3 separate regions of the Homo sapiens genome follow, and regions 1 and 3 are each linked to region 2. Evidence: promoter capture Hi-C in 16 types of primary human blood cells and fetal thymus (Javierre and others, 2016). All regions are on one chromosome and are shown on one strand. Each heading gives the region's core, a stretch centred on a gene start or on the middle of the fragment in contact. The rest is flanking DNA. Distances are from core to core; before and after follow the strand shown.

What was found. The method cuts DNA at HindIII sites, captures the fragments that hold promoters and counts their contacts. A CHiCAGO score of 5 or more calls a contact.
Region 1: the fragment with the promoter of IGLON5 here is called in contact with a fragment that was not itself captured in region 2 in 1 of 17 cell types (naive B cells); the score reaches 5.7 in naive B cells.
Region 3: a contact is called between the fragment with the promoter of SIGLEC10 here and a fragment that was not itself captured in region 2, in 4 of 17 cell types (erythroblasts, megakaryocytes, endothelial precursors and 1 more). The highest score is 7.6, in erythroblasts.

The regions. Positions count from the first base shown.
Region 1 is chr19:51,310,083-51,312,929 of GRCh38, reverse strand. It overlaps IGLON5 (IgLON family member 5), which reads right to left and starts at 1,286. Exons shown (of 8, transcript NM_001101372.3): 1 at 1,004-1,286. The coding sequence starts at 1,082. The HindIII fragment of the contact is 5,776 bases long and covers 1-2,847 here.
Region 2 is chr19:51,677,090-51,680,046 of GRCh38, reverse strand. No RefSeq gene overlaps it. Among named protein-coding and RNA genes, the nearest start is that of MIR99B, 14 kb to the left of the region's middle. The HindIII fragment of the contact is 6,463 bases long and covers 1-2,957 here.
Region 3 is chr19:51,416,346-51,419,273 of GRCh38, reverse strand. SIGLEC10 (sialic acid binding Ig like lectin 10) reads left to right here and starts at 1,632. Exons shown (of 11, transcript NM_033130.5): 1 at 1,632-1,729; 2 at 1,809-2,192; 3 at 2,324-2,608; 4 at 2,917-2,928. The coding sequence starts at 1,693. It overlaps SIGLEC10-AS1 (SIGLEC10 antisense RNA 1), which reads right to left. Exons shown (of 3, transcript NR_164125.1): 2 at 2,544-2,845; 3 at 1,077-2,142. RefSeq lists enhancers at 1,403-1,472, 1,533-1,702. The HindIII fragment of the contact is 3,908 bases long and covers 1,194-2,928 here.

The DNA of each region.
Region 1 (2,847 bases), core at 37-2,536, 370 kb after region 2:
CCCTCCAGCCTCCTGCCTCCTTGCACTCTCCTCCCTTTTCTTAGGGGGAAATCTAGGAATCTCCTTGACCACCCCCTGCCTGCCAGGCCCTACTGGGGAGACTCAAGGTCCAGCTATCTAACCTCAGTGCAGAAACCTGCCCCTGGCCCTCTCCCCAACTGGGAGGGCCGGGCCGGGCCGGGGTTAACCCTTCAACCTGCTTTAACCCTTCCCTTCCGTCTTTCCTTCATCCTCCCATGCCCATCGCTCTTCCACTGTCCAGCCCCACGAACCTAGACATTCAATCAGAGCTTGGGAATCCAAGACCCCAGCCCAGCACCCCAACTTCCTGTATCTCCAGCTCCCTTCTCCCCCACATAACTGCAACCTCCCCAAGTACCAACACTTTCTCTCAACCTAGATGACCCTGCTGGGGGATTTCAGACCCTTCCCCTCTTTTCCTGACCCTGGGACTAGGTCTGTGGACACCCTTGTCCCCTCCTCTTACTGACCCTGGGAAGGCATCCATCCCCTGACCTCTGTCCCGAGATGACTACCCCAGCCCCCGGCAAGGACCTCTTCAGGGACCCTCTCCACGTACAGATGAAGACCCCTAACAGGGCATTATCCCCTGCCCCCCACCCCAACTCAGTTCGGAGATCCGACCCGGGGACCCCGAGTCCAGTGTCTGCCCCCTCCTCAACAGGAGCCGCAGACTCCTGCCCCCAGGCAGGGCTAGGTGTCTGCGACCCTCTTGCCTGCTCGGGGAAGCAGACCTCCGCCCCTAGACCCGGCTCCGGCCCGAGGACGCCGACCCCTGCCCCGGGGCGCGGACCCCCACGTCCGAGGTCCCCCTGCCCAGCCAGGGAATGCAGACCCCACCCCCGGGCCCAGACCCCGGCGTCCCGGGGCCTCCCCGCGCCGGCCCAGGGATGCAGCCCTCGACCCCCACCCCTGATCCCCCGATTACCCACCCAAGACCCTGGCGTCCCGGCCGAGCCCCCCGCCCCCGGCGCTGCGGTACCTCGGCTGATGACGGCCAAGCCGGCCAGGGCGGCGGCGGCGAGAAGCCGGAGCCGGGCCCCGGGCGCAGGGGGGGGCATCGCGGCAGAGGCGGCGCGGAGGGGGAGGGGAAAGGGGGGGCCGGTCCGGGGCGCGCGAGGCCTGGGGGGAGAGGGGGGAGGGGGAGGGGGACCCCGCCTGCGCTGCACCGGCCCGGGGGGCGGCGGGGGCGGGGGGAGGGGGCTGGGGGGGCGCGACGAGGCGGCTGGAGCTGCTGCAGACCCGGGGAGGGGGGCGGCGCTGACGGGCAGGGAGACCGGCCAATCAGGAGAGGTGGGGGGCCGGGGAGGCGGGGTCAAGGGGGGGTTGCTTGTTGGAGGGAGAGGCCTTTGTTACTGCGGCCCGGCCCCTACCCCTCCCGCCCCAGGCGTCCCCACGTCTTTCCACCACATCCGCAGAACACGGAGTCTGGGATACTTCCTAAAACCCAGCTCCCTCCTCCTTCAAGTCCCAATCTCATCCTCCCATGGACCTAGGAGACTAGCCCCAGTCCCTCCTCTCTCAGACCCAGGAGCCCAGGTCCCCAGCCCCTCCTCCCTCAGACCCTGGAGTCCAGGCCCCCAGCCCCTCCTCCCTCAGACCCAGGAGTCCAGGCCCCCAGCCCCTCCTCCCTCAGACCCAGGAGTCCAGGCCCCCAGCCCCTCCTCCCTCAGCCCAGGAGTCCAGGCCCCCAGCCCCTCCTCCCTCAGACCCAGGAGTCCAGGCCCAGCCCCTCCTCTCTCAGACCCTGGAGCCCAGGCCCCCAGCCCCTCCTCCCTCAGACCCAGGAGTCCAGGCCCCCAGCCCCTCCTCCCTCAGACCCTGGAGCCCAGGCCCCCAGCCCCTCCTCCCTCAGACCCAGGAGTCCAGGCCCCCAGCCCCTCCTCCCTCAGACCCAGGAGTCCAGGCCCCCAGCCCCTCCTCCCTCAGACCCTGGAGCCCAGGCCCCCAGCCCCTCCTCCCTCAGACCCAGGAGTCCAGGCCCCCAGCCCCTCCTCCCTCAGACCCAGGAGTCCAGGCCCCCAGCCCCTCCTCCCTCAGACCCTGGAGCCCAGGCCCCCAGCCCCTCGTCCCTCAGACCCAGGAGTCCAGGCCCCCAGCCCCTCCTCCCTCAGACCCAGGAGTCCAGGCCCCCAGCTCCTCCTCCCTCAGACCCTGGAGTCCAGGCCCCCAGCCCCTCCTCCCTCAGAGCCAGGAGTCCAGGTCCCCAGCCCCTCCTCCCTCAGGCCCAGGAGTCCAGGTCCCCAGTTCCTCCTCCCTCAGACCTAGGAGTCCAGGCCCCCAGCCCCTCCTCCCTCAGACCCAGGAGTCCAGGTCCCCAGTCCCTCCTCCCTCAGACCCTGGAGTCCAGGCCCCCAGCCCCTCCTCCCTCAGACCCTGGAGTCCAGGCCCCCAGCCCCTCCTCCCTCAGACCCAGGAGTCCAGGCCCCCAGCCCCTCCTCCCTCAGACCCAGGAGTCCAGGCCCCCAGCCCCCTCCTCCCTCAGACCCAGGAGGCCAGGCCCCCAGGCCCCTCTTCCTGTGGGCCACAGTTCAGCTTTTCCATCTATTTTCATGGATAACGAAAACACTGACTTTTGGAGTGAAATTTGCTTTTTTCCTCCACCCCAACCCTCATCCCCAGTATAATAAGGCAATGGGAAGGGATTGGGGGACTTATCTTGGGGGAGCAGGTGGGGAGGAAACCATAATCCAGGGTTTAGGTGCAAAACATCCTGGCTCCCTGTTCTTTCACTGACTTGGCTGTGTGACCTTGGACAAGCCATTTCTCTTCCCAGAACCTCAGCGTCTTCCCCTGCAAGGTGGAAAATTCCCTATTGCCCAAGGT
Region 2 (2,957 bases), core at 312-2,811:
CCGATACTGTACTCTGCAGATGACAATACCCACCCAGCAGGACGTACTGATAACTGAGAGTTGCTTGAAAAAAAGTGGTTTATTTGATGAACCTACTGAAGAAATAGCCAAACGAAGGTGCTTTGAGAGTGGATGTATTTCACACGATACATGCTGTAAACACTTTGCTATTGTTTTGCTCCTGCCAATGTGCTGAAACAGGTGCATAGCTATTGAATGCTGAGATACAGATGGAAATTCAGAAATTATTTTTGCGGGGTTGTCAGCCTTCTAAAATATCTCCCAATGATCTCCACTTCCTGATATTCATGTGTTTGTGTAACCTCCTCCCCAAAGGATGAACTTAGTGACTTACTTATAACTAATGGTATATGGCAAAAGTGATGGAATGTCATTTCCAATATTAGATTACAAAAAACTGTGTGACTTCTGTCTTGCTAGCAAACTCTACTGCCTTTCTGATTTTCATGTATTAATCAAGTAAGTGGCTATATTCTGAGCTGCCATTTTTGAAAGACTCATGAGGTAAGGAACTGAGGGAAGCCCCTGCCAACAGCTAGAAAGGAACTGAGGCTCTCATTCCAATACCCTGTGAGGAACTGCATGTTGCCAAAAGCCAATGAATAAACTTGGAAGTGGGTCATTCCCCAGTAGAGCCTTCAGATGAGGATGAAGACCCTGAGTCAACATCTTGATTTCAACCTAGTGAGAAACCGTAAGCCAAGGACCAAGCTAAGCTGTGCTCAGATTCCTGACCACAGAAACTGTAAGATAAGTGTGTATCAAGATGCTCAGTTTTGGAATAATTCCCTAGGTAACAATAGATGGCTAATATTAATACTTTTTTGTTTTTCTGTTATATGAATAGTATTTTGATATCTTGAAAGTGAATTGTCTTTCTCTATTGTCATATTTCTCATCCAAGATTTCAGGAGACATTCTTCCCAACAGCCTACGTGAAATAGCAAGCAAATGCAAAAATCTTATGGGAAAACAAAAAAACCTAAGAGAGGGGAGAACTTTCTCATTTTTGAGAATGGCAGTCCAGGCTATATGGATCAACTCCTCTGCTGAAAGTCATTAAAAGTGGCGGATAAAATACTCAAAACAATCTTTATAAAATAATGGAAAGACAATCTAGTGAGGAATTTCCTAGCTAAAATTTAGAAAGTGAGAACTCCAAGAACTAAGCAGAGCATTCAAACCTGCTTTTGACTGATGAGCATAGGCTTATTCTGATTATAAAAATGAGCTGTAGTTTTCAACAGTCTCCTGAGAGGAAAGGAACAAAAGTAAAAGTGGCACCAAACTGGTACTATGGCATATGGTAAAAGCAAACTGAAACCCTCCTTCATGGATGTACTTTGATCATAGAATGAAAATGATCCCAGGTAGAAGGTCTGAGGTACGAGGAGGAAACAGGTGGTAAATATATGGATGTATCCATCAGGATTCGAATAGGAAGCTGATGGCTCATTCAAGAGCTTAATTAAACATAGACTTGGCCGGACACGGTGGCTCACGTCTGTAATCCTAGCACTTTGGGAGGCCAAGGCAGGCGGATCACTTGAGATCAGGAGTTCCAGACCAGCCTGGCCAACATGGTGAAACTCTGTCTCTACTAAAAATACAAAAAGTGGCCAGGAGCGGTGGCTTACGCCTGTAGTCCCAGCTACTCAGGAGGCTGAGGCAGGAGAATTGCTTGAACCCGGGAGATGGAGGTTGCAGTGAGTCGAGATCGCGTCACTGCACTCCAGCCTGGGTGACAGAGCAAGACTCCGTCTCAAAATAAATAAATAAATGAATAAATAAATAATAAACATAGGCCAATGAAGGGACTAAATAGAGATGTAGGCAGGATTAAGAGGTCCAAAAAGAGATGGTGCAGCATCCAAGGACAAGCAGCAGTGGGAAACGGGTACCAGCCTAGACCTGATGGGGCAAGGGCAGTAGCCTTGGAGGATGGGCTGCCTTATAGGACTTGTAGCACAGAGGAATGCAGCCACGGCCAGAACTGTAGGGAGAGAACAGGAGGAATAAAAACCCTGACTTCTTTCCTCCCACCCTTCAATCTCCGGACAGTGCCTCCCACTGGCAAGGGGAAGCTGATGATGCGGTCCTGAGAGGTCAGCCTGTCAGTGCACAGAAATGAGCAGAGACAAGTGAATGATGGATCTGAAGAGGCACAGGTCATCCCTGTTGTCACTGAGCACCCATTACGTTCTTTTGTTTGGATGAACAAGCTCACATCCTTAACACAGAGATGCCCAGTATTAGTTCTACTATTACTGCAGAGGGAAGTCATTCCTGCTATACTTCTGAAACTGAAATTGTAACAACAGCCATGAAAAGTGCTCTTCATGTAAGATATCAGAGTGAAATTGAAGTGGGAAAGAAACAATTAGTTACCATAAAACATAATAGCTGCAGTTCCTGCTTCTATAGCTGGTCATAAAGCCTAAATTGATAACCATTTTGTGTCTCTCTTACCTTCCTCTAGCACTTCGTTTCCTTGGAATTTTTTATCTGGTAGAGTGACCCAAAGGATCCAAGTCATTAATGCTTCGTCTTTATTGCACTGCTGCAGTTATCCATTGACCATTATTCTGGACAGAGTATAAAAAGCCTCCCGACGGAATAGTCTCGGTTCCACTCCTAATTCTCCTTGATTGCACTGTATAGCAACAACATATTTTTCTCCTAATAATTGGATCAATTGGTACCTTTACTAGCTTAGTAAAGGTACCTCCTTCTCTGCCTGATGGTTTAGCATCATGACTTGCCCAAAATGGCCAAGAGGCAGCCTCTCCTTCCACTTGAAACCATAACTGGGTCCTTTAGTGGAAGTGTTTCTCCTTGAAACACTAGGACTCGCAAAGCCACCCACTCCAAAGTTGCAAATTTAGGAAGCAAAAAATTGCATAGGTGTGTGATTAGGTGGAATAAGGAAGAGGAAC
Region 3 (2,928 bases), core at 383-2,882, 260 kb after region 2:
AAGATGGAGGCTGCACTGAGCCATGATCACACCACTGCACTCCAGCCTGGGCAACAGAGCAAGACCTTGTCTCAAAAACAAAAAACAAAAATGCCATGGATGAAAGAACCAGGACAGGGCAGAGGCTGGGTCATCTCCTCCAGGAGGCCTCTCCTGACTTCCCTCCACCAGGAAGAGCTGACCACTCCTTCCCCAGGTCCCATCCTGAATGTCTGTCCAGCATCCAGTTCATTTAGGGGACCTTCTGTACTTTGTTTCTAAGAATCTTCATTTGCTAACCTGGGGCCCTGGAGCTGACTCACCATGGAGGATTCACCTCCAAGTCCCCCTAAAGCTCAGTGCTTGATACCCAAGGTATGTGGAGGTTGAAGGATGAGTTCTGTGTTTCGGTGTGACCCAAACAGAGTCATTTCAGGAAGAGCTCAGTGAGGGGAAAACATCTTGTAGAGTTTACTCCATTCATTGCAAATTACCCCTTCCCTAGTCTGTTCCCCCCACTCTGCCCCTCACTCCCGCCTTCCTCAAACTCTTCCCATCAGCATTAGCTTTGGACATATGTGTTCTAATCCCAATGGGTGTCCCAATTGAATGACAGAGGAGGAAGGGAGACTGGGAAGTGGACTAGGGCCTGGTTGGGGCAGGAGACTGCTTCTGGGGACCAAGGGTCAGTGAGCTCACCAGGAAGCATGAAGAGGTGGAGCTGACACCACCCTACGGTGGCCAGATTTAGAAAAAAAGAAATTCAACATGCTCAGTTAAATTTGAATTTTAGGCCAGGTGCGGTGGTTCACACCTGTAATCTCAGCACTTTGGGAGGTCAAGGCAGGTGGATCATTTGAGGTCAGGAGTTCAAAACCAGCCCTGCCAACATGGTGAAACCCCACCTCTACTAAAAATACAAAAATTAGCTTGGCGTGGTGGCGCGTGCCTGTAAGCCCAGACTCAGGAGGCTGAGGCAGGAGAATCACTTCAGCCTGGGAGGTGGAGGTTGCAGTAAGCAGAGATTGCACCACTGCACTGCAGCCTGGGTGACAGAGTGAGACTCTGTCTCAAAATATAATTAATTAATTAATTAATTTGAATTTCAGATAAATTTATTTTGCTTTCTGGTATAAGTATATCCCATGCAGCATTTCGGACATACTTATACCAAAAAACATAAAATAAAATACTTTATATTGTCTGTGAAAGCTTTAACCAGGCATCCTGCATTTTACCTGACAAGACCAGCCCCCTCCAGTAACGGTCCCTTCCCCTGTACCCACCACCTCCACCACCAGTGGCCCAGATAAGGGTAGCTCACTGTGGACTTCTCACTTCTGCTTTTCCGATGACCCAGGGCCCAGAGGGAGAGCCCCCACCCCACTACCCCACCCCCAGCCAGGCCCCCAGGATAGACACAAGCCTGCCCTCTCCTCCTACACAGGGAGCTCTGGAAGGACCAGCTCAACAAGCCCAAGGCCAGGCTGGGCCCCCAGGAGACCCAGAGGACAACTGGGCAAGGTGGGCCGGAGAGTGTGGGGGAAGGCAAAGGAGTTCTGTGAGCTCAGCGTCTGAAGCTCATTTCATGCATCAGGCCCCAGGGCTCAGCTTCCGCCTTCGGCTTCCCCTTCTGCCAAGAGCCCTGAGCCACTCACAGCACGACCAGAGAACAGGCCTGTCTCAGGCAGGCCCTGCGCCTCCTATGCGGAGATGCTACTGCCACTGCTGCTGTCCTCGCTGCTGGGCGGTGAGTGGGCCAAGGGCCGGAAAGGACCTGGGGCGGAGCTAGGGCTGGGGTTGCAGGTTGAGCCTCTGTCTCCCCACAGGGTCCCAGGCTATGGATGGGAGATTCTGGATACGAGTGCAGGAGTCAGTGATGGTGCCGGAGGGCCTGTGCATCTCTGTGCCCTGCTCTTTCTCCTACCCCCGACAGGACTGGACAGGGTCTACCCCAGCTTATGGCTACTGGTTCAAAGCAGTGACTGAGACAACCAAGGGTGCTCCTGTGGCCACAAACCACCAGAGTCGAGAGGTGGAAATGAGCACCCGGGGCCGATTCCAGCTCACTGGGGATCCCGCCAAGGGGAACTGCTCCTTGGTGATCAGAGACGCGCAGATGCAGGATGAGTCACAGTACTTCTTTCGGGTGGAGAGAGGAAGCTATGTGAGATATAATTTCATGAACGATGGGTTCTTTCTAAAAGTAACAGGTATGGAATGGGGTGGGAACCCCTGCCTCTCACACTGGGGAGGGACCCTGGGGACAGCCTATGGGCTGAGCAGAGAGGGCTCTCAGGGACCCCTGCAGCACAAGAATCTCCCACCACGGTCTCTGTCCCAGCCCTGACTCAGAAGCCTGATGTCTACATCCCCGAGACCCTGGAGCCCGGGCAGCCGGTGACGGTCATCTGTGTGTTTAACTGGGCCTTTGAGGAATGTCCACCCCCTTCTTTCTCCTGGACGGGGGCTGCCCTCTCCTCCCAAGGAACCAAACCAACGACCTCCCACTTCTCAGTGCTCAGCTTCACGCCCAGACCCCAGGACCACAACACCGACCTCACCTGCCATGTGGACTTCTCCAGAAAGGGTGTGAGCGCACAGAGGACCGTCCGACTCCGTGTGGCCTGTGAGTGTGGCCTGGGAGGGTGGGGTGTGCAGACAGCCCCGGTGGGTGGGGAGGTGGAGGAGCCCAGTGGGACAGTGAGCGGCTCCCAGCTCAGGAGCATCCAGGGAGAGGAAGCTGTGGGGTCCCAGGATGCCGCCGCAGCCCTGGGAGGGGGATGGGAATGGCGTCTGGTCCACACACGTGAGCCCTGGCGCTGGTTGTCACTTGTCTTCCCGGGATAGTCCCACTTTCTTTTCCCTGAGGGAGTTTTTTCCAGGTGTGAGGAATAAATTGTCCCTCCCTGAAGCCAGCTCACAATCTTGTTGCAGATGCCCCCAGAG